6 separate regions of the Homo sapiens genome follow, and regions 1, 3, 4, 5 and 6 are each linked to region 2. The links are contacts of gene promoters, found by promoter capture Hi-C in blood cells and fetal thymus (Javierre and others, 2016). All regions are on one chromosome and are shown on one strand. Each heading gives the region's core, a stretch centred on a gene start or on the middle of the fragment in contact. The rest is flanking DNA. Distances are from core to core; before and after follow the strand shown.

Evidence for each region. Contacts are between HindIII fragments. The CHiCAGO score rates a contact against its expected background, and 5 or more counts as called.
Region 1: a contact is called between a fragment that was not itself captured here and the fragment with the promoter of FAM136A in region 2, in 3 of 17 cell types (M2 macrophages, M0 macrophages and M1 macrophages). The highest score is 10.1, in M2 macrophages.
Region 3: a fragment that was not itself captured here is called in contact with the fragment with the promoter of FAM136A in region 2 in 1 of 17 cell types (M2 macrophages); the score reaches 5.2 in M2 macrophages.
Region 4: the fragment with the promoter of SNRNP27 here is called in contact with the fragment with the promoter of FAM136A in region 2 in 4 of 17 cell types (neutrophils, total CD4 T cells, non-activated CD4 T cells and 1 more); the score reaches 7.6 in neutrophils.
Region 5: a contact is called between the fragment with the promoter of ASPRV1 here and the fragment with the promoter of FAM136A in region 2, in 1 of 17 cell types (total CD4 T cells). The highest score is 5.3, in total CD4 T cells.
Region 6: a fragment that was not itself captured here is called in contact with the fragment with the promoter of FAM136A in region 2 in 1 of 17 cell types (non-activated CD4 T cells); the score reaches 5.4 in non-activated CD4 T cells.

Annotation. Positions count from the first base shown.
Region 1 is chr2:70,775,076-70,779,098 of GRCh38, reverse strand. FIGLA (folliculogenesis specific bHLH transcription factor) reads left to right here. Exons shown (of 5, transcript NM_001004311.3): 4 at 1,428-1,462; 5 at 1,717-1,789. The coding sequence ends at 1,732. Among named protein-coding and RNA genes, the nearest start is that of ADD2, 8.9 kb to the right of the region's middle. The HindIII fragment of the contact is 3,173 bases long and covers 623-3,795 here.
Region 2 is chr2:70,300,567-70,304,764 of GRCh38, reverse strand. It overlaps FAM136A (family with sequence similarity 136 member A), which reads left to right and starts at 2,698. Exons shown (of 3, transcript NM_001329752.2): 1 at 2,698-3,161; 2 at 3,785-3,925. The coding sequence starts at 2,754. RefSeq lists silencers at 576-705, 2,509-2,778 and enhancers at 2,464-3,412, 3,413-4,198. The HindIII fragment of the contact is 2,364 bases long and covers 640-3,003 here.
Region 3 is chr2:70,791,367-70,795,030 of GRCh38, reverse strand. No RefSeq gene overlaps it. Among named protein-coding and RNA genes, the nearest start is that of FIGLA, 2.6 kb to the right of the region's middle. The HindIII fragment of the contact is 378 bases long and covers 1,197-1,574 here.
Region 4 is chr2:69,891,509-69,895,612 of GRCh38, reverse strand. It overlaps SNRNP27 (small nuclear ribonucleoprotein U4/U6.U5 subunit 27), which reads right to left and starts at 1,657. Exons shown (of 6, transcript NM_006857.3): 1 at 1,595-1,657; 2 at 399-519. The coding sequence starts at 1,628. RefSeq lists enhancers at 162-1,096, 1,295-1,354, 1,097-2,032. The HindIII fragment of the contact is 14,817 bases long and covers 1-4,104 here.
Region 5 is chr2:69,959,394-69,963,176 of GRCh38, reverse strand. It overlaps ASPRV1 (aspartic peptidase retroviral like 1), which reads left to right and starts at 1,546. Exons shown (of 1, transcript NM_152792.4): 1 at 1,546-3,088. The coding sequence starts at 1,741. The coding sequence ends at 2,520. PCBP1-AS1 (PCBP1 antisense RNA 1) reads left to right here. Exons shown (of 11, transcript NR_033872.1): 11 at 1-914. RefSeq lists a silencer at 1,366-1,660. The HindIII fragment of the contact is 12,271 bases long and covers 1-3,783 here.
Region 6 is chr2:69,917,352-69,921,255 of GRCh38, reverse strand. All of the region lies in intron 2 of MXD1 (MAX dimerization protein 1), which reads right to left. Among named protein-coding and RNA genes, the nearest start is that of MXD1, 4.2 kb to the right of the region's middle. The HindIII fragment of the contact is 1,268 bases long and covers 1,418-2,685 here.

The DNA.
Region 1 (4,023 bases), core at 960-3,459, 470 kb before region 2:
CCTGGGATTTTACTGTGCTCTCTATACTTTGGGGATTTAGGGGCTGGTGCTGTGATGGTGCCTATGCTTGTGGTTCTCTGGGATTTTGGAAAGAGCCTTGCTTTTCAGATTATCATAGGAACAGGGACTGAACTCTAAAGCTGAGTGAGCAAGGATTTCTGTTTACCCCATCTCCCTCACCAAGCCTGGCTCAGTGGGTGGAGGAATGTACATTGGATAATACGTCAAATTCTGCAGCCACACTGCCAACAATTGGAGTGTGCCTGCCTTCTTAAAGATATTAAGCAGCAAACTGGGTTTCTATTCTCCAGACTACCCTCTTCTTGGACCTTAAACTCTTTGGCTTAGATGAGACCAACAGCCAATTTTTAATGAGCTGTGACAATAAAGACAACATTTATAAACTTTGGCAAGTTTTTCTATTCTCATACTTAAATATTACGTTTCTGAAATTTTCCAGCTAATTCTTAAAAACAAACTAAAATAAATGTTCTAAAATGCAGTAGACTATAGGCAGAATATTGTCATCCTTTAATCCTTCAGGTAAATTTATATGAATTTGTCTCAAGTATAAAAAATTCTAAATATGAAAAAAATTAAAATTTATTTTAAAAATAAAGCTTCCAAAGCTAGGTCTGAACTATAAAAAGAAAGAAATGTTGATCACTTGTATAGTGGAAAGACTCGATCAAGATTAGAAAAAAAAAGCTACTCATACATATTTTGTGTCAGAGACTGCTCCTGGCAGTGTATACATATTAACCTATTTAATTTTCACAACCACCCTGTGCTATACAAACAATTATATCCATTTTACATGTGAGGAAACTAAGGAACAGAAGTAACTTGCCCAATACCTGCAAGTCAGTGAAGTGTTGGGGTTGGGGGGGATGTGGGTGATAGTGTTAAGTCCTTTTTAACCACTTTCGTTCTAACAAAACTCAACTTTGAAATGTAAAGGAGGGTGGACTAGAAAATAGATAAATGTTTAAGGCTAAGTTAAAGCATTTGATTGCGGTGCTTTACCATCCACAGTGATGTACATAATAGGTTTCAGTATCCAAAATGCCTGACCATGACTTGAGCGGCTTTATTTTTCAGTCATGGGTTTATTTTTTCTTCAAGTTGAGAGTTTCAGAAAATTGAGCAGAGACAAAATGATCTTGCCACGTTAGTAAAACCACTGATGGAAATACACTAAAATCCTTCCCATTTCTTTTCCTTTGCAACTAAAATAAAAAATTATCATCAGGTACATAACATTGTGTGCCTGTTCTTGATTTTTCTATCACTGGCATGTTTATGTGACCCATTAGGTGGGACAATTTTTTTACTGTTGGCCACTATGTTCTCAGTTTTTTGTTCTCTTAAACGTGACAAATAACCGATGTGTTTAGCCCTTTCTGTATTTTGTATTGTTTTTGCAGGATAGATTCCCAGAAGTAGAACTGCTGAGTCACAGGTAGGTCATTCTATAACCTGATGCATAGTGCCAATTTATAACACCACTGGCTGTATAATAAGAGTGCTAATTCCATCACATTCTTAGCAATGAGCTCTATTAAAAGAAGGAATCTTAATGGGTAAAAAAGTAGTATCTTTAAATTTAAACATCTTTGATTACTAATAAAATTAATTTTTTGCATATTTCTTTATTTCTTTTGTAAACGGTTCTTATTTTTAACTATTTATAATGGAATGTTTTCTCTGTTTCAGACTTCCACAAGTATGAAAAATGAAAAGGCCCAGGGTTACCTTCTAGAGACAAATAAATGCAGTCTTGAAAGTTTTGGAGTCTCTCTTTTTTTTTTTTTTTTGAGATAGAGTTTCACTCTTATCACCCAGGCTGGAGTGGCACGGTGTGATCTCGGCTCACTGCAACCTCCGCCTCCTGGGTTCAAGTGATTCTCCTGCCTCAGCCTCCTGAGTAGCTGGGATTACAGGCATGCGCCACCACGCCCAGCTAATTTTTGTATTTTTAGTAGAGACAGGGCTTCTCCACGTTGGTCAGGCTGGTCTCGAACTCCCGACCTCAGGTGATTCAACCACCTCAGCCTCCCAAAGTGCTGGGATTACAGGAATGAGCCACTGTGCCCCGTGGGAGTCTCTTTTTTAAAAAAGAAGTTTTGTAGTAATTCCGAGTTTAACAATTACCCTTTTAAATAGCCTTGCCTCTCTCAAGTTTACTCCACTCTGCCTTCTCCTTAACTTCATGCTTTGAAGAAATAGGCTTCAGGGGCTTCATCCTTTGCTTCCAACTCACTGTCATCCTCTGGGGACCTACATCTTTTTTTCATTGCTTTGAGAAATAAGTGACTGTTACCCTTCCAATAGAAATTAACCTTAATAGAAATGAAGACTTAAGCTAAAAGAGTTGTAAACATTGGCCAAGGGGAGTGAGAGTTTTCAAGGGTTTCTAGATACCCAGCTAAGGCCAAATGGCACCTTTTGTGCAAGGTAGACAGCCAAACACCTTGAGCACAAAGACTTCGTCTTTATAACCATTGCTCACAAAGACATAGTACTTATTATATGCTGGATTCTGTTCTCTATGCTTTCCATGTGTTAACTTGTTCTTACAACAAGCGTAAGATAATGGCATAAGTATCCCCATTTCACAGATGGGAAAACCAAGGTACAGAAAGTATAATTAGCTTAGCCTGCCTTAACAAATACCATAGACTGGGTGGCTTAACAACGGAGATTTATTTCTTATAGTTCTAGAGGCTGGAAAGTCCAAGATTATGGTCTGGCATTGTTCAGTTTCTGATGAGGGCTTTCTTCCTGGCTTGCAGATGACTGCCTTGTCACTGTGTCCTCATATGGCAGAGAGATAGCTAGCTTTGGTTTCCCTTCTTCTTATAAGGGCACCAATCCTATTGGATTAGGGCTCCATCCTGATGACTTCATGTAATCTTAATATCTCCTAGAGACCCTGTCTCCAAATACAGCCTTATTGGGGGTTAGGCTCTCAATATATGAATTTTGGGTGAACATATGCTGTTCATAGCATTCTGTCCCTAGCCCTTCCCCCAAATTCATTTTATCACATGCAAAATATATGCATTCCACCCCAGCAGCCCCCAGAATCTAAACTCATTCTCACTTTAAAGTACAAAGTCTCATTTAAATATCTTCTAAATCAGGTATGGGTGAGACTTGAGCTATGATTCCTATCTTTCTCCAGCTGTGAACCTCTGAAACCAGACAAGTTATGTGCGTCCCAAGCACAATGGTGAGACAGGTGTAGGATTGACATTCCTATTCCAAAAAGGAAAAATAGGAAACAAAGTGTTAATGGGTCCCAAGCAAGTCCAAAACCTATTGAGGCAAATTCCATTATATCTTAAGCCTCAAGAATAAATCCTCTTTGCTTTGATGCAGTGTCATCCTTGTGGCTTGGCAGGGTGACCTTCCCTCGGAAACTGAGGAGGAACTCAGCTCTTCTCCTGCCTGTGCCCCCTCCTCCAAAACATACACACACACACTGAGTGGCCACCCTGATCTCTGAGTTGCCTTTGGGGTCATTTCTTTCCTTTGCTTAAATAGTGCATGTTTGTAGCCAAATAGTGATATGGTCTAGTCCTATAGAATCTGAGAAGGCTGACAGCTTACCTTCATTCTTTCCCATTTTCTCTGTCCCCTTTCTTTCCAGCTATCAGGGTCTTTCTGGTATAATCCCGTCGGTATTCCTGGCTTCAGCTGAGATGGCTAATTAAGTATATGAGTCACACTCATGATCTGTTATCAAATGGTTGCTCAGCCACACCCTTAGTGATCTCTTCAGAGTAAGCTTTCTTAATTTTTGCAATATGGATAGGTTAAGAAATTTTCCAAGTCCCCAAGTTCTGGTTCCTTTTTTTTTTTTTTTCTTTTTAAGACAGAGTCTCTATCACCCAGGTTGGAGTGCAGTGGCACAGTCTTGGCTCTCTGCAACCTCCACCTCCTGGGTTCAAGCGATTCTAATGCCTCGGCCTCTTGAGTAGCTGGAATTACAGGTATGCACCACCATGCCCAGCTAAT
Region 2 (4,198 bases), core at 1,449-3,948:
AGGAGAGTAAAGTACCCACCTCATAGGGTGCTTTGTCATGGAAATTAAATGAGATCATCCCGTGGAAGGCACTTAAAACACTGTCTGGCACATTATTTAATAGTTGGTGTCGCCCTGATTCCAGCTGCTGCTGGGAGCCACTTGTAGTCGAGCTTGAAGTGAACAGGCTGTCTCAAGACCCTGAACTGTGATTTATGGGGAGATACTCACACTTGTACTCACTAGAGAGGGCCTGGCGCTGGAAGAACACAGCTTGTTTGGTTGCTTGCTTGCTTGCTTGCTTGCTTGCTTGCTTGCTTTTATTTTTTATTTTATTTTTTTTGAGACAGAGTCTCACTTTGTTGCCCAAGCTGGAGTGCAGTGACGTGATCTCAGCTCGCTGCAACCTCTACCTCCCGGATTCAAGCGATTCTCCTGTCTCAGCCTCCCAAAGTAGCCAAGACTACAAGTGCCTGCCACCACGCCCGGCTAATTTTTGTGCTTTTAGTAGAGATGGGGTTTCACCATGTTGGCCAGGCTGGTCTCAAACTCCTGAACTCCTGACCTCAGGTGATCCACCTGCCTCAGCTCCCCAAAGTGCTGGGATTACAGGCGTGAGCCACCGTGCCCAATCAAAACATAGCTTTCTTCAAAGAAGCTTGGGTTGAGTCAAACTCCCCACTGCCCTAAACTAGAGTTCTCCTGCCATCTAGCGCCCAATGGCAGAAAATCGTTAAATTCTAATGACGGCCCCATTCCTTTGTTCCTCCCCCACCCCCACCTTGCACCCCCATGCCTGACATGGCTTTCTCTTCAGCCCCATATGCCAAGCAAACACCCACTCATTTCAATTCAATTCAAAGCCTCAATTCAAGCCTTATCTCCTCTAAGAAAACTTTCCTGAGGAACCCGGATGGCTCACTCCCTCCTTGCCAGCCTGGACCACCTCCTCCAGCACACCTCTTCCAACACTGCCCCTTCCCCTTCTCCACGGAGTGTGTTTCCCTTCTCCACTGACACTCCCCTCTGGACCCGCACCCCTAGCTAATGTATTCGATAAATGAATGCACACGACAGTACTGTTATGGGTGGGACAGTGAGGCATTCCAAAAAAAAAACTGCTCCAGGAATTCAGAAACAGTTTCATGTTGCTGGCATGTAAGTGCTTCATTGATGACTGCTTCATTGATGATCTGTAGCCCCTGCTTTGTCTCTGAAGTTCATTTTTTATGAGAAATAAATGCATAAACATACATCTACCCTGTGATCCAACAATCCCATTTCTAGATATTTACCCAAAAGAAAAGAAAATCTGTGTCTACAAAAGACTTGGTCCAGGACTGGGTGGTGGTGCATACCCGTAATCCCTTTGATAGGCAGAGGCAGGAGGATAGCTTGAGGCCTGGAGTTTGAGACCAGCCTGGACAACATAGCAAGATCCCATCTCCAAAAGAAAAAAAAAATGGTCAAGGATGTTCATAGTCACCACTTTATTCATAATAGCTACTAAGTGGAAAAGACCCAAACACCCATCAGCAGGGGAATGGATCAACAAATGTGGGCCGGGACCGATGCCTCATGCCTGCAATCTCAGCACTTTGGGAGGCCGAGGTGTGTGGATCCCTTGAGCTCAGGAGTTGGAGACCAGCTTGGCTAACATGGTGAAACCCCGTGTCTACAAAAAAAAAAAAAAAATTAGCCAGACGTGGTGGCACATGCCTGTAATCCCAGCTACTCGGGAGGCTGAGGCATGAGAATCACTTGAACCAGGGAGGTGGAGGCTGCATGAGCCGAGACCACATCACTGCACTCCAGCCTGGGTGACAGAGTAAGACCCTGTCTCAAAAAACAACAACGACAAATGTGGTATGTCCATTCAATAGAATACTACTCAGCAGCAAAAAAGAACCAACAACACAGCTCAATCTCGAAAGCATTAGGCTAAGTATTTTTCAGCAATATGCTAAAAAAGCCAGACAGAAAAGGAGTACTTATTGGATAATAACATACATATGACATTCTAGAAAGAGAAAATGTAATCTACAGTGACAGAAGCAGACCAGTTAGGGCAGGGGTGGGGAGATGGGGTAGAAAGGACGGAGATTGGGACAAGACAGAGTTTGGGTTTTTATTGTTGTTTAGAGACAGAGTCTCACTCTGTCGTCCAGGCTGGAGTGCAATGGCGTGATTTCGGCTCACTGCAACCTCTCCCTCCCGGGTTCAAGCAATTCTCCTGCCTCAGCCTCCCAAATAGCTGGGACTACAGGCATGTGCCACCACACCCGGCTAATTTTTGTATTTTTAGTAGGGACGGGGTTTCGCCAGGTTGGCCAGGCTGGTCTCAAATTCCTGAGCTCAGGTCATCCACCTGCCCACGGCCTCCCAAAGTGCTGGGATTACAGGCGTAAGCCACTGCGCCCGGCGGACAGGGTTTGTTAAAACTCATCAAGCAGCACGCCTAAGATCTGGGCATTTATCTGTATGTAAATTACATTAAATAATTTTAAAGAATGTAAAGGGAGGGACATGGGAGGGAGGAGGAAAGGCAGGCAGCAGCCGCAGGGCAGGTGTCCCAGTGACCGGTTCCCAAGCGGGAGGAGGGCGGTGGGCTCGCGGACACCAGCATGCAGTGGCTCCGTTCGGCCGCCAGGGGGGGGCGTGGGCCCTGGAAGGGCAGGCGGCGAAGGGCGGCGAAGGGCGGTGAGGGGGCGGGCCCGTACGCCGATTCCATATGGGCGCCGGCGCGGAGCGCCGCGGGGCAGCGCGGGGTCGCCATGGCTGAGCTGCAGCAGCTCCGGGTGCAGGAGGCGGTGGAGTCCATGGTGAAGAGTCTGGAAAGAGAGAACATCCGGAAGATGCAGGTAGCGGGGCTGGGGCCGAACCAGGACCCCCTTCTCAGCGGGTGGGTTCCGGGCCCTTCCCTCAGCCACCACGCGACGCCTTGCACTGCAGCCGCGTCCCCGCAGACCGGGTGTGGGCGGCCCTGGGGTCGCCGGGGCGGCCTCGGACAGGACTTCGGAAGCTTTGGCGGATCGGATGAAATCCGTGTGCCCTTGCCGTGCGCGAGGCTGTTTTCCGCCCCTTCCAGCCCGGGGCAGGAGCGTCCTCGGCGGCAGGTGGGAAGCCCCTGGTGGCAGGCGCTCGCCCCACCACCTTCCCCTCTTACGCGGCCCCTTCCGCAGGTGAGCGGCCCGAGGCCCAGCAGAGGCGCTGCCAACGTGAAAGACCAGAAAGGCGAGGACTTCCGGCCTCCCCGTTGGCCAGGTCATGCCTGCTTCTCTTGCGCCCAACCTCGCTTCACACAGCGCGGGTTTCTACACTGTTCTTCTCTGAGCCCCGCAATGCCTCTGTGTGTTTCGGTCCTGCTTCTCTCACGGAGTATGCGTTTCCCAGATAGTGCCCCTTGAGTCATTGATTAGTGGGTCGGCTGCCCTCTGGTGGAATTTGTATTGCTAGGTTGCTGACCTCTGAACCCCATGGAAGAGGCTCCTGGTTTTCAGAATTTGGCTTCGTCAGACCACCCTACCCTCACCCACTCGGGCGAACCTCTGTTCACCCAACCATCGGTGCAACAGGTGCCGATGAGCTAGCAGCAAGGACACCATGAAACACTACACTAGACATTGAGGATAATTTTCCCCAGTGGTGGTTTTAAGGTCCTGGTGTCTATTCTCAGGGAAGGTGAAAGCAGAAGGTGGAGAGAGAGGTGCAAATATCCACGTGGCCTTCTAACTCCTGTAGTGCTCCATAGTCATCTCTGTCCCCAGAGACTTTCCTACCTAACCTCTCTGCCCTTTCTCCCCAGGGTCTCATGTTCCGGTGCAGCGCCAGCTGTTGTGAGGACAGCCAGGCCTCCATGAAGCAGGTGCACCAGTGCATCGAGCGCTGCCATGTGCCTCTGGCTCAAGCCCAGGCTTTGGTCACCAGTGAGCTGGAGAAGTTCCAGGTGAGAAATATCCTAGACAGAGCACTGTAGTCCTTGATACAGACTTTTGCAGGAGATGACAAGCATTTGTTCAAAACTCTTGGCTTTAGTGTCTTGGTTCTGTTAACAGTTGTGATACTGATGGCCAACCAGTTTTCACAGGGTTTGAAATTTTGGAAAAAGTCTTGGCGGTCGAGTGCCTTAAGTTGAACATCATTTCCTATAGAAATGATGTAGGCCGAGCGCGGAGGCTCATGCCTGTAATCCCAGCACTTTAGGAGGCTGAGGCAGGTG
Region 3 (3,664 bases), core at 136-2,635, 490 kb before region 2:
AGCAGTATAGGATGAATGCAACTGAGCCAGTACTGTGTATATCAACCATAGTATATCACCAGCATCTAAGAGGACACTTATCCTTCAATTTTCCATGGCAGAGAGATCTTCCTACTTTCTATGTAAACTTAGGTAAGCTTTTTCATTCATCTATTTATTTATTCACAAATATATATTATAGGGTCAAGCAGCTATGGCAAAACGTGAAAGATTTTACCTGAATAAGCAGGTTCTTATTTTACCCATGTCAAAGTAGCTTTTTTACTTCATTGCAAGCATCATTCATTCATTTGCCTTCTCACTCATTCAACAAATGTTTATTGCATGTCTACTGTGTGCCAAGCCAGCACTCCGTAGGTGCTGGAGATGCTGTGGCCAGTGATCCTCCTTCAAGGAGCCAAAATAAGAGAAATAAATGATCTCGCAGAGGCTTATGGGCACTACTGGAGCACAGAAGAGGGGCACTAGGACAGAGACTCCTGTTGTCAACCAAATGCGTTCTCCCCATTGAACAGAATTGTAGCCAGGCACATGGCTCCCCAGTCAGACTACATTCCCCCACCCTTTCTTGCATCCGTGTGTAGCCATGTGTGAATTCCTGCCAATGGCATGTGAGTTGAATCCTATGTGCCACCTCTGGTCAGGCCTTAAGATCTCTTCCGTGCCCTTCTCCTGGAACCCAGATACGGTGGCTACCGAGCCTCAGCCATGCCAATGATGACAATGCTGTAGGGGAGTTGACCCTAAGGGATGGAAGAACAATAATTTGGAAGGAACCTAAGTCCCCAAGTGACCTTGAGGAGCAGAGCTGACCTAAACCTTTCACACTGTTAGAGGATAGTGAAACTTTTTGTTCATTAGGCCATTGTATTATTGGGTGTATGGCAAGGTATCAGCCCTAAGTCACCATCAGGTGTAACACTTTAGCTTAAATCAGTTCACATGATTGCTTTCCCTGAGAACAATGACATAACGTATGAATCTAACAGACCAGAGGCCAGAAAGTTAAGAGTTGGAGTTTATGGAAGAACACAGGTATGAAGGAATCAAATCTGGTGTGCTCACAATGGGTTCCTAATGTACACCACCTTGTTCACTGCAAGGTTTGGCAATAAAATAGAATAATATCAATGATGTCCTTTATGATGCTTTCAAGGAAAGTTAAGTAAATGGGTAAGCTATCTCCATTTTAAGCTTTTTCCCACACTTTTGGCCCTTGTTGCTTTCCATCTGCCTGCCAGCAGACAACACCAAATGAACTTAGCGCAAACAAAGTATTTTCCTACTTAAAAATATATTTTAAATTACAGAAGTGGCCCGTGTTTATTGTGAAATAAGCTATATAGAGGATGTGATGTGCAGTCACACTTCCCCATTCCCAGGCCATGCTCAAGGAACCTCAGTCAAACATTTGGTGTGTCCCCTTCTTTCCTTTGACCTTTCCTGGGAGGCAATGTCAGAGTGGGAGCTGAAGAAGGGTGGGGCCTAAGAGGTGGCTGATGTGGTTAGAAAATTGGTTAGGTACAGGGATTGAGCAAATAAGTAATTACACTGAGGATAATGTGAGTCAAGCTTCTCATTGTTGGAGAAGGGAGTTACAAAAGCAGATATGGGGTGAGGAGTTACAAAAAAGGAAAGCAGAGAAACTAGAGGGAACCTGAGGTGTTGGGTTGGAGTTGGAGGTATTAGTGTGAACTCATGGTTTTAAATATATATGTACTTAGATACACAGATATAGTTATTATATGCATTATATTATATTAGAGGATATTATATGCATTATTATAATATAATACATGCATGTGTACTTACCTACATATGTGTCATATCTGCAAAAAGGGCTTAGAAGCAATGACATCCCAAAAGGAATGAGCAAGCAAGCACACAGATCTTGGTTTCTAAATCCTACCTTCCACTAAAAGAAGAATAGACTGATCCCTGGGCTGGGGCTGGGAAAATTCAAGAAGAGCCTTCCTGGGACAAGTGAGAAAGTGCACAAAGAATGAGGGAGTCATATGAAAAGGACAGAGGAGCCAGCTTAGAGGGCCTCCCATAAGCCAAATCTGAGACAATTTGAGCATTAACATAATGATGTAAATAAATTATATCCTGTGACTAAAATAGAAATTCATGAGCCCATGCTGACATAAATACAAAATGAATAAATAAATGGGAAGAAGGGAAAGCTCTTTTTCACAGTAGAATGCCAATCATTTGCCTCTAATTGTAGTGCTGGTTGATTCAGGTAGGAGTCAACAATGGATGAGAAGGAGTATCTCCTCACAAAATTTTTTTTTATTTTTATTTTTTGAGACGGAGTCTTGCTCTGTTGCCCAGGCTGGAGTGCAGTGGCACAGATCTAGGCTCACTGCAAGCTCCGCCTTCCGGGTTCACACCATTCTCCTGCCTCAGCCTCCTGAGTAGCTGGGACTACAGGCACCCGCCACCGCGCCCGTCTAATTTTTTAATATTTTTTAATAGAGACAGGGTTTCACCATGTTAGCCAGGATGGTCTCAATCTCCTGACCTCGTGATCCGCCCGCCTCAGCCTCCCAAAGTGCTGGGATTACAGGCATGAGCCACCGTGCCTGGCCCACAAAATATTTATCAATTTATGGTGAAAAAACCTGACACCACCACCTTGACCAGGCGATTAAGGTTAACATCACCAGTGGTGGGGCAGATCAACCTCATGTACTTCCTGATGTGATGCACTGAGAAGAGCCCAGCATCATTTATATGGAGCCCCTCCATGAAGGCATGGCTGGGGTCTGGACATGAGCAAATAGTGGACAACCCCAGGTCGAGGGACATACTACAGAATGAAAGGCCCCTACTCTTTTAAACTGTCAAGGGCATGAAGACAGGACAAGATGGAGGAAATGGTCCAGAATGAAGGAGAGTAGAAATATGACAACAGAATAAAACTTGTACTCCTGGATTGGATTCCAACCAGAAGAGAAAAAGACATTGTTGAGACAGCTGGTGGTACTTTGATGGGGTCCATGGATTGTATGGTAGCACAGTACCAATGCTTACTTCCTAGTTTGAGTGGTTGTGTTGCGGTTATGTGGAAGAGAGGCCTTGTTTAGGGGGAATACCCACTGGAGTATTTAGAGGTGATATGACAGCATGTCTGCAACTTAAAAACTTTAAAAAAAGAATAGATCAATGGATGCAGCTAGACGTCATTATTGTAAGGGAACTAACACAGAAACAGAAAACCAAACATTGCCTGTTCTCACTTTATAAGTGTGAGCTAAACATTGAATACACAGGGACACAAAGATGGAAACAATAGACACTGGGGTCTGCTTGAGGGGGAAGTAAGAGGGGGGCGTGGGTTGGAAGGATACCTATTGGGTACTAGGCTCACTACTTACGCCACGGGATCATTCGTACACCAAACCTCAGCAACACACAATTTACCCACTTAACAAACCTGCACATATACCCCTGAACCTGAAACAAAAGCGTAGAAAAAATATTTTCTCAGACCAAAGAAAAAAAAATGTATTTCTATGCTTGGAAGGAATGATTTTACAGAGGGCTTCCAGAAACATGTCTGATTTTCAGGTGCAAGATCAGAATGTTCCAGTTATATTGATAACCTCCAGAGAAACAAACTCTCATGAGTAATCTACTCAAAACAGAAGATGTAGTT
Region 4 (4,104 bases), core at 408-2,907, 410 kb after region 2:
GCAGATTGCGCCGCTGCACTCCAGCCTGGGTGACAGAGCGAGACTCCGTCTCAAAAAAGAGGAAAAGAAAGGAAAAGGAAAAGAAAAGGAAAGGAAAGGAACGGAAGAAAGAAACAAAAATATAAAATACTTATTTCTTTTTCTTGCCAAGCACCATGCTCTGGGGTTTGCATGCATTATTTCTTACTTACTCTTTCAAGACAACTTTGTGATGTAGAGTACTATTAGCACCATTTAACCAAGGTGAATGTTAGCTTTAGAATAAGGTTGGATTAAGTTTCCTCCATTTCAGGAAACCGTAAATCCCCTTATAAGCGATGAAAACAAAGTTAAGAGCTGCGACCAGTTTCTTAGGGACTTTCGGTAAATAAAACTCTTGGCTTATTTTCTGCCCTTACCGGGAGCGTCTTCGGTGCGGGGATCGCGAGCGGCTCCTTCTCCGATCTCTCTCCCGAGACCTGGACCTTTCTCGGCGCCTGCGTTCTCTCTCCCGGGATGTGGACCGGGAACGCCTACGTTCTAATGCAAACGCACACAAATTGCAGAACTGATAATTACCTCAAATATCTAGAGCTGCGCCGTCCAGTAGAAAAATAATGCAAACCATTACTAGTCACATTAAAAAGGTAAAAAGAGGCTGGGAGCGGTGGCTCACGCCTGTAATCCCAGCACTTTGTGAGGCTGGCGGGCGGATCACAAGGTCAGGAGTTCGAGACCAGCCTGGCCAACGCGGCGAAACCCCGTCTCTAATAAAAATACAAAAATTAGCCAGGCGTGGTGGCACGGACGGGTAATCCCAGCTACTCGGAAGGCTGAGGCATGAGAATCGCTTGAACCCAGGAGGTGGAGGTTGCAGTGAGCTGAGATCGGCCACTGCACTCCAGCCTGGGCGGGCGACAGAGCGAGACTCTGTCTCATTAAAAATAAATAAATTGATTTAAAAAAAAAACGAATCAGGGGCAGAACCGAGGGTCTAAGTTAGATCTCCTAATGGAAGTCCAGGGTTCTTTACGTCGCGCTGCCTCATTTATGGGGCTGGTAGCCAGAAAACATTACGAAGTGAGCTCCCAGGACTCAAAATTCTTAATATCGATTTCCCTGTAATGACCTGGGCAGGAATCTAACATTTATTAAGTATTTAAGAACCAGGCAGAATCACATACTGTATGTTATGGGATGTGACATTAATTCTCACATCAGTTTTTAAAAGTTGGCAATACTACCCTCAATGACTCATTCTGGGAATTCGATTCAGAAAGGCTGAGTAGTGACTTGCCCACCGTCGCCCAGAAATTCAGCAAAGGAACTGAGGTCTAATTCTAAACCCACCGGCCACAGTGTAATAAAAGTTATTGTATGAAGGTGACAAAGACTTAATGAAACTAATTCAGAGACAAACAACTGCCTTCAAACCGGAGAGGGCGGGCTGAAGAGGGCAGGGCCCAGGTCTACGTTCCTTTATCCACCCCTCGCTCTCCGCCTGGGAAAAGGGCCCGCCTCTCTGCTACGCGGCTACCAAAAACAAAACAAAATAAAACAAAAGGGACAGGCCTCCAACAGAGCCCCATATCCTCCGAATTGCTACAGGACTCACCCCTCCGTGGAGAGCGGCTGCGACTGCGACCCATTTGGAGTCCCGCTTCCCGGAAACAACTGTGCAACAACTTCCGGGAGGGCCGGGAACCGAGCTTTTACCGCCGACCAGAAAACGTCAAAACGAGTTGCGAGGGTTCCGGTCTTCTTTGTTCACGGTGGGCATTAAAACATGCGATTTGGTGTTATTATAGAAATTCCTGGAAAATTCAGCCGTATACCCATTATCCTAACACAGCTTTCATTTTTCCCCCATTTTTGTCCACATGCACAAAATAGAGCAAACCAATTGTAAACATAGCATAGACAAACAGCTTATGTTCTTCCACTTTTCCACATAACATTCATAAGGAGTGAATATACCAAAGTTCACTGTCCATCTGCTTTATATTTTCTCATGCCAGCATTGAGAAGGCACCCAAAACCTCCTATGGGCTCTTGGAAGGAAAACTAAAGGCCCCAGATTCCATCCTACCCGACAAAGTACTTCCCCAAAGTTGCCTCTGTCCTCAGGGAAAACAACAACAACAACAACAAAAACTTTAGAATGTTCAAAACTACAAAAATTAGGAGAAAGACTGTCTTGCCCCAAGGCTGAACCGTCTGTGGTAGAGCATAAATATGCTTACCAGGAAAGACTCAAACCTCTATTTCTTATTTTATTTTATTTTGTTCCAGGGTACATTTGCAGGATGTGCAGTTTTGTTACATAGGTAAATGTGTGCCATGGTGGTTCGCTACACCTATCAACCCATTAAGCCTTGCATCTATTAAGCTATTCTTCCCAATGCTCTCCCTCTCCCCAGCTCCTCCCCCTACAGGCCCCAGTGTGTGTTGTTCCTCTCCCTGTGCCCATGTGTTCTCATTGTTCAGCTCCTACTTATAAGTGAGAACATGCAATGTTTGGTTTTCTGTTTCTGTGTTAGTTTGCTGAAGATAATGGCTTCTAGTTCCATCCATGTCCCTGCAAAGGACATTATCTCGTTCCTTTTTATGGCTGTGTAGTATTCCATGGTGTATACGTACCACATTTTTTTAATCCAGTCTATCATTGATGGGCATTTGGGTTGATTCTATGTCTTCGCTATTGTGAATAGTACTGCAGTGAACATATGCGTGCAAGTATCTTCGTAATAAAATTATTTATATTCCTTTGGGTATATACCCAGTAATGGGATTGCTGGGTCAAATGGTATTTCTGGTTTTAGGTCTTTGAGGAAACACCACATTGTCTTCCACAATGGTTGAGCTAATTTACATTCCCACCAACAGTGTAAAAGTGTTGAACCTCTGTTTCTAATCAAACCAACTCTTTTCAGTCAGCTCTCTCTAGAATTATCAAGTCTAGTGACCTGGCTTTTAAAATACAAAGAGCTGGGGGATGGAAAGGGACTTTATTAGGTTGGAAAAAATGCCCACCAATCACATAAATTTTTAATTAGATTTATACATTCAGAGTGGCCTGTTTAATACCTGTCCCAACCCAAACTTCCAGGAAAGATCCAGCCATGACATCTAGGATTTCTACCAACAGCCCCAACCCCCAGATGCCTTTGGAATTACCCTGGCAAAGCATGCACTAGGTGTAGAATGGGGAGGTTCAAGGGAGGTGCAGACCCCAGGGAAGAAGATTTAGGGACATCATTGGAGAAACACACCACTAATGATAGCCAGGCGTGGTGACGCATGCTTGTAATCCCAGCTACTTGGGAGGCTGAGGCAGGAGAATTGCTTGAACCTGGGAGGTTGAGGTTGCAGTGAGCTGAGACTGCGCCACTGCACTCCAGCCTGGGCGACAGAGTGGGACTCCGTCTCAAACAAAAAAAAAAAAAAAGAAAGAAGAAGCACACCACTAATGATTGAAGAAATTATCCACAGGAAAGACAGGATTTATGGGAAGCCTAAGGGGGTATGTACTAGATGTGTAAGAGAGGAAGAACATGGTGGCCTCAGGTGGTGGCTGAAAATACTCTTTCTTTCTCTTTCTCTTTCTCCTTCTCCCCTCAGGGCTGGGGTCTCATCTGATGAAAATGCTTTTTAAGAAACCCCTCACCCGGCGCGGTGGCTCACGCCTGTAATCCCAGCACTTTGGGAGGCCGAGGCGGGCGGATCACGAGGTCAGGAGATCGAGACTACAGTGAAACACCGTCTCTACTAAAAATACAAAAAATTAGCCGGAGGTGGTGGCGGGTGCTTGTAGTCCCAGCTACTCGGGAGGCTGAGACAGGAAAATAGTGTGAACCTGGGAGGTGGAGCTTGCAGTGAGCCGAGATCGCGCCACTGCACTCCAGCTGGGCGGTAGAGTGAGACTCCGTCTCAAAAAAAAAAAAAAAAAAAAAAAAAAAAAGAAACCCCTCTAGGACTAAAAATGATTGGAAGGTATGCTGGGGATCAGTTGAATACACAAAGATTTTTTGAATGCATGCGATGCACAGGACACTATACCCCTTTGGCACTAGATTGAAAAGATGAGTAAGACATGGTCCCTGCCTCAAGGAGCTTGCACTCTAG
Region 5 (3,783 bases), core at 297-2,796, 340 kb after region 2:
CTGGCTCACTGAATCAGGTGGAAGGGGCTGGGGACAGCACAGTCTTGCATTGTGGTTGGGGACCTGGGCCATCCAGAGGCAGGACTGTCCAAAGGCAGGGTACTGCTGGGATTCCGCCAGGCACTGGGTGATGCATGGCATAGGGAGCTGAAGAGGGACAGGCTCTTGGCCAGGAAAAACAGCCCCAGAGCCACAGGTGTGCCATCGAGTCTTCCTCCTCTCCCATCCTTAATCACTCCTGTTTGGTGACAGCACACAGCTAGGCCTGGAGCCCAGCAAAGAGCCCCTGGGTCCCAGAGGAAGTTGTTCTGGGGGCTGGAGACAATCACAAATGCCAGGTTTGTGAGCCCCAGACTCTGGTTCATAGCAAGAGGCAGACTTGTGAACAAACCACCAGATCACACCGTAAAACACGCTCAACGAGGAGTGGGTGCCCTTTCTAGGGACAGGCAGAAGGCTCCATGGAGTGACCTTTGAATGGGGACATAAAAGTGGATCCCTTCAACAGCCCCTGCACAGCCCCAAGTCAGGCCTCCAGCCCTTGGACTCACAGATGTCCTCTGTAGACGACTGGATGTCCTCCCGTGCTACCCTTTACCCCTGCAGCGAGGGGCACAGAGCCAGAGCCCTCCAGGTCCTCACCACTGGCATCACCAACATAGTGGACATTTTCCCTCTCAGAATGAAAAGGGAGTGAAATTTCCCGTGATCTTTCCACAAATGACCAGCTTGGGGAGTGGGAGAGGAAGTGCTGCAGTGCCTGGGGAAGGGGCCCTGGAACAGTTCCTGGAAATGGAGAGGGGTGGATAGGGTGGAGACAATGCTCATGGAGTGCAGTATGGGGCCTACCCAGAGTTGCTTGGCCACCCCTCTGCCTCTGAATCAGGGGTGATCAATGAAGGAAAATTACTGCAGCAGTTGAGTCCATGTAAGATGATTGTGCACGTGTGTGTGTGTGTGTGTGTGTGTGTGTGTGTCCTCACTCACTTAAAAAAGACCATTTCTGTGCATTCTTTATGCTGGAACCCTCCTCTGCCTCCCTCTCCAGGAAATCCCATAGGATCCCATACCTGCTTTAGAATGTGTGTGAGACACTTCCCAGTGCCTGGCATGTGGTAGGAGCTCAGTACATGTAAACTGTTTTCCTTTGACCACTCAAAGTAGTCACTTGTTGGGGAGGCCAATGGCGGCTTCCCCGGTCTCTGAGCTGATGGGCGTCTGGTCCCTGCCTCCCCTTCCTTCACTGGCTGATGACAAATACCTGAATGTCATCACATCCTCCGTGTCCTCATCTGTTATTCTGGAACACAGGCCAGGGAGGGTACAGGGTAGTCCCCCTTCAACAGAGGCTGGCCTTTCTTGGGATGTGGGCTGGCTGGTGTTGGTCCAAGGATGGATGCAGAGGGTGAGGCACCCATCCTGCTAGTCCGGCCGGATGCTGGCAGGAGGGCGGGGTGAGGAGGGGCGGAGCTTCCAGAACAAAGGAGAATGGGGAGCCCAGGGGCCAGCCTAGGCATCAAAAAGGCTCTGCAGAGTGAACAGGCCACAGCACTGCCTGCCTCTGCCCCAGCAGTCAGCCAGCCGACCGCGCCTGCTCCCTCCTGCTTGCCCAAGGCCGGGCAAGTCATCCCCACTCTGCTTCGAGAGGCCCCGTTTTCCAGCGTGATTGCGCCGACACTGCTCTGTGGGTTTCTCTTCTTGGCGTGGGTTGCTGCTGAGGTTCCAGAGGAGAGCAGCAGGATGGCCGGGAGCGGAGCCAGGAGTGAGGAAGGCCGCCGGCAGCATGCCTTCGTCCCGGAACCTTTTGATGGGGCCAATGTCGTCCCAAACCTCTGGCTGCACAGCTTTGAAGTCATCAATGACCTCAACCATTGGGACCATATCACCAAGCTAAGGTTCCTGAAAGAGTCCCTCAGAGGAGAGGCCCTGGGTGTCTACAATAGGCTCAGTCCCCAGGACCAGGGAGACTATGGGACTGTGAAAGAGGCCCTCCTGAAGGCCTTTGGGGTCCCTGGGGCTGCCCCCAGCCACCTGCCCAAAGAGATCGTCTTTGCCAACAGCATGGGTAAGGGCTACTATCTCAAGGGGAAGATTGGCAAAGTGCCCGTGAGGTTCCTGGTGGACTCTGGGGCCCAGGTCTCTGTGGTCCACCCAAACTTGTGGGAGGAGGTCACTGATGGCGATCTGGACACCCTGCAGCCCTTTGAGAATGTGGTAAAGGTGGCCAATGGTGCTGAAATGAAGATCCTGGGTGTCTGGGATACAGCGGTGTCCCTAGGCAAGCTGAAGCTGAAGGCACAGTTCCTAGTGGCCAATGCGAGTGCCGAGGAAGCCATCATTGGCACTGATGTGCTCCAGGACCACAATGCTATCCTGGACTTTGAGCACCGCACATGCACCCTGAAAGGGAAGAAGTTTCGCCTTCTGCCTGTGGGAGGGTCCCTGGAAGATGAGTTTGACCTGGAGCTCATAGAGGAGGACCCCTCCTCAGAAGAAGGGCGGCAGGAGCTATCCCACTGAGAAGCCACCTTTTCTTTAACCTCCTAAATATTGGTGGGAAGACCCACCGCTGTGGGGGGGGTTGCATATCCTCATGGGGGTCACTGGGCTTGGCCAGTCTGCTTATCAACTCTTGCTCTTCTCTCCCCTTTGCCTCCCTCTGCAGGGGCCTTAATCTGCCCCTGGTAGGGGAGGCTTCCACTGAACAGGCACAGGTGAGGGAGAGCAGGCTGGCTTAGAGGGACAGGGTCCCCATGGTCATCAAGCTGCTGTTGATGACAAAGACTCAAAGGCTGGAAGAGCTCCCAAGGAAGCTAGAAATGCTTGTCTTTGAAAGAACTGTGGGACCCCTTCAGATTCCCTGAGGTATGGCTTGGTCACTCTCAGGTCCTCAAAGCCTGTCTTAGTTGGGCTGGGTCCTAGCTGCAGGGTCTTTGTGAGGGTCACAGTTGCTCTGGGACACCTCCCTGAAGAGCCTTTCCACCTGTACAATCGTATTTTCTTTCTGTCATTTGCTTTGAAGCCCATTGTGCCTTATGCCAATAATTCAATTGCTGCAAACACCAATAAAGATTGATTCATGGAAAAACCATGTAATGTGTTGATTGAGGATGAGAGGAATGTGAGAGGGAGTCAGCATCAAAGACAAGGGAGATTCACATGTCTACTGAGTGCCTAGCTGGAGGTATAAGAACATATACACAGGGATGACAGGTCTTGGATTTTCTAAGACAGTCTCAGCATAAAATATTTTGACTTATTCCCTCCAGAATTGCTCTCATTATTTTGAATCGTCATAATTCCTCTACTTATTTCAATCTGTAGTATTTTAGCATACAAATTGCCTCTATACCCAAAAGTGACCCTAAAGTTTTATGTGAGATGTCTTGATTGGGGATTGGGAAATTATGGTTATGATAAACAAACAGGAAAGTGTCTGCTGGGCAAATAGGTTCTTACAGCTGTCCAGGAGCGAGAACTTGGAGGCAGAAAGCAGGGCCAGGAGACAAGTGTTGACCTGTGTGGGGCAGCCCAAGGGCATGCTGGAGGACGGGGGAGGCTGTGGCAAGGCAGGGTCCCGGCGGTGGGAGGTCAGCTTCTTCTTGGAGGGACTTGGAACAGAGCCTGAAACTAGATGACCTGATGGAGGGGAGGACATTCCCAGATCTGGGAATGGGGTGTGCATCTCTTTTAGGGGTCCATCTCGTATTTGCTTCCAAATTTCTGTTTCTTTTTCTGGAGTGCAGCAGGGCTGGGAATCTGAAACTCAAAGGGAGGAGCTGA
Region 6 (3,904 bases), core at 802-3,301, 380 kb after region 2:
AACTTCTGACTCCCTGAAGTAACTATCATGTACAAGATGCTACTGTTAAATAGCAACCAAATGATTTTAGGAAGGGGTTTCCAAAGTTCAGCTCAATATAAAGATGATAGGTTGCTTAAAGCAGAAGTTAGTGAAATGTGAAGTCCAGCTTTGCCACTGATATACTGTGGAATGAATAAAATTCTTTACCATCCTGTTACTGGTTAACCTGTCTATAAAATGAGAATAAAAATAATTACGAATTATTTACTGAACAAGTATGGACCAATGAGGTAACAGCTGTAAAACTGATTAGAGAGCCTTGGATGAAAGGTGTGATGGATATGAAACCATATGATTAGTGTATTTATGGCTGACCTTAAAGACAAGGTCTGGCCTAAGACTTTATGGACAAGTTACCATAAAGTCATAAGAAGTCAATGTGGCCCCTTTAGTGTCCTCCTCACACAACCCCTTCCTAACCAGTTATAAATTTGGAAGAAGCTACCAGTATTATAAAGGAGCTGAATCTTGCTTGACCTTTCTATGAAAATTCTCTAGAATTTAACCAGCTCAGGAGTTTACTCCCTGGTTCAGCTCATGAATTCTGTGGGGCCATAATCAGCACCTTACTGGGCTTAGGAAATAAATTCTCACAGCAATCATGGAGGAATACCACCTCAAGAGTGCTCAGCCACTCATTTACATCAGGGGCACCAACATCAAGTTCACTCATCAGAGAATGGGGGTAAGGAGAGTGAATGTGGGGGGATGGCAGCGGAAGTGAGGAGGTTGTCTTGAAATGAGAAATTTCCAACCTAGCATTAAACTTCTCTTTCACAGGGATCTTAGGAATCAATTTTTATTCACGAAGAAAAAATAAATGAGAAAATGACAGTATTTTAAGTTTAGAATATTTGTTTTCTAGGTAAACAATATATGGACCTCATGTATTCAAACCAATCCAAAATTGGTTAACTTAAAAGTTTCAGGCTAGGCGCAGTGGTTCACATCTGTAAGCCCAACACTTTGGGAGGCCGAGGCAGGCGGATCATGAGGTCAGGAAATTGAGACCATCCTGGCCAACATGGTGAAACCCTGTCTCTACTAAAATACAAAAATTAGCCGGGCGTGGTGGCGCGTGCCTGTAATCCCAGCTACTCCCTTGAACGAGGGAGTTGGAGGTTGCAGTGAGCTGAGATCGTGCCACTGCACTCCAGCCTAGCGACAGAGGGAGACTCCATCTCAAAAACAAAACAAAACAAAACAAAACAAAACAAAACAAAACAAAACTTTAAAATGGTCAGGCATGGTGGCTCAGACCTGTAATCTCAGCACTTTGGGAGGCTGAGGCAGGAGAATTGCTTGAGCTCAGGAGTTGGAGACCAGTGTGGGCAACACAGCAAGAGCCCATCTCAATTAAAAAGAAATAAAAGCTTTACACTGATTCACTTGGTTATCCCTCAGCATTCTCCAGTCACATTGTTCTGAAGGTTTATTGCCTTCAATGGCCAACAGGATACTATAGTTAACAAGAATCTGGCATATACTGCAAACCTTTGGCTCTAAAGCACGTGGCATTTTAACTTTAACCGGGACTAGTAAGTTCAAAGCCTGACAGATTTTTTTAAATGGATGAAAGTAGATGGGCATAGTGGGATCCCAGCACTTTGGGAGGCTGAGGTGGGTGGATCACTTGAGGTCAGGAGTTCGAGACCAGCCTGGCTAACCTGGCGAAACCCCGTCTTTACTAAAAATACAAAAATTAGCCAGGCATGGTCACATACGCCTGTAATCCCAGCTACTCGGGAGGCTGAGGCAGGAGAATCACTTGAACCCAGGAGGTAGAGGTTGTAGTAAGTCGAGATGGTGCCACTGCATTCTAGCTTAGGCAACAGAGCGAGACTGTCTAAAAATAAATAAATAAATAAAATAAAATGGATGAAAGTATATGCCAACAGTTGGTTGAGATTACCCTCTTTAACTGTAGACAAGGACCACCCCTTGTAGGTGGAGGAGAGGAAAGTGAATAGGTTGAGAAGAGAGTAGAAAATAACAGCACACAGGAAATTCTTACCAAAATATTTCTGGATTCTTTGAAAATATATAAACTAATAAATAGAGTTATATACTTATGCAAAATTCTGAATCCCCAAAATAAACTTTTAAACAAACTCCATAGGAAGCACAACTTCTTCCAAAATTTGAACAAAATTTTTAAAACTACAGATTTTATTTGATTACTCGAGTGTTAAACACATGGTGCTTTTTAAAGGGGGACTTGTACTTAATGGCTAGAGCATTACTGAAGTGCATCTAGTTTACTGAAACTGAGTTATTAATAAAAAGCAGCCCTTTCAAAAATGATCAGTTCCGAGACTGCCAGCCACCTCCATTGATGGGTAAACATTTACGTTTTTAATTAAAGCACTGTAAGAACACACTGATACCTTGTGTCAAAACTATTTTCCATGTGATTATGGAAAACAATGGATAACTCTGGAATCACTGATAAAGGTCAAATTTCACCATTTAAAAATACACTCTAATAAAAAAAAACTAAGCCAAATTACGGCGTATCTGAGATAACCAGGAAAAATTCTTGGGTTCAAAAACACTCCTCATGTCAGGTCACTCTAGCCACTGTCTTATAAAACAACTGGGTGGCAAGTCCTGAACTTCCTCTTTCACGTGAGTGCCAAAGCTTGCTTTACTCATTGAACAAAACACACTTTTAAGAAGTTCTAGATTTCAATTCTAAATAATTAGTAATTGACTTCAAAAATCAGTAGGAAAGAAACTTCCATCTTCCCATATTCCAGCAGTTCTATGGATAATTTCAAAAACAATTGATATTCACAATTTCATTTTCATTTTTGTTGTTTTAATAAGCAACTAGAGAAACGTGAATAAGATCTGCATTTTCAGTTCCCAAGAAGTTTCCTATGTGGCAAAATCTTATCTTTTATTGTCCAAGGAAAAGTACTTCCCTAGACTCTACAAGCAAAAAGCACAGCATTTCAACCTGTAAGAACAAGAATAAACTGTTATCCAAGGGTTATGTAAACCAGCAGTAATCTCTCCCTATCCTTTACCTCAGTTCAAAATTCTGACCATACATGGCTGAGGATATAAAGCCGATTCAAACCATGGGGTCAAGCTGCTTTCTCCATTATGATTGCTTGTTCCTCAGAAAAGGAGCTATTCCAAATGAGTCATGAAGGAAATGATCACACTGAAAGAAAACTGCCTGCTCTTGCCTCACACGTTTGGCTGGTGCTACCTCTAGGTTTAATCATGGTCTCTCAGAAATCCTTACACCACTGAATATATTACACTAACTCACTATCAGTCAGGTGTATGGACAACTGTGATAATCCCGTCTCTAACCATGGAAAGCAAACCAACCCATTAACAGAAGGATTTGTAGCCTTTATTTTTTTTTTTTTGGCATAGTACTGATTATTAAAGAGAAGATACTAGAAAGAATCCATTTCTTGGCTTAAGATTCTTAACTACTATTATTTTTCTTTCCTAATCACCTTTTGGGACCAAGCCACTTCAACATCTCATTTTCTTATCCCCACTAGTGAACATCCCCTACAACCTTCCTGTGAAACTAAGGAAAAAAACAAAGTGTTAAGGTATTAAGCCTCAATAAGTAACTTGGACAATTCCTCTCAAATCATTAGTGGACAATAATAAAAGCAAAAATGGATGATGCTTTTCCAGAAAAATTAACTGAAAGGCCTCAAAATTCTTCTAAACAAAATTAAAAAAATATTGTAACAAAATGCAACACAGCTTAATTGGTTTTACACCATTGCATATTACAAGTCAGTATTAACATCTTTCTTAAAGTGCCTTCATACCCATGCACAAAACTACTGGCTACCACCTTCAGGTAATGCTAAGGTGGGAGGAC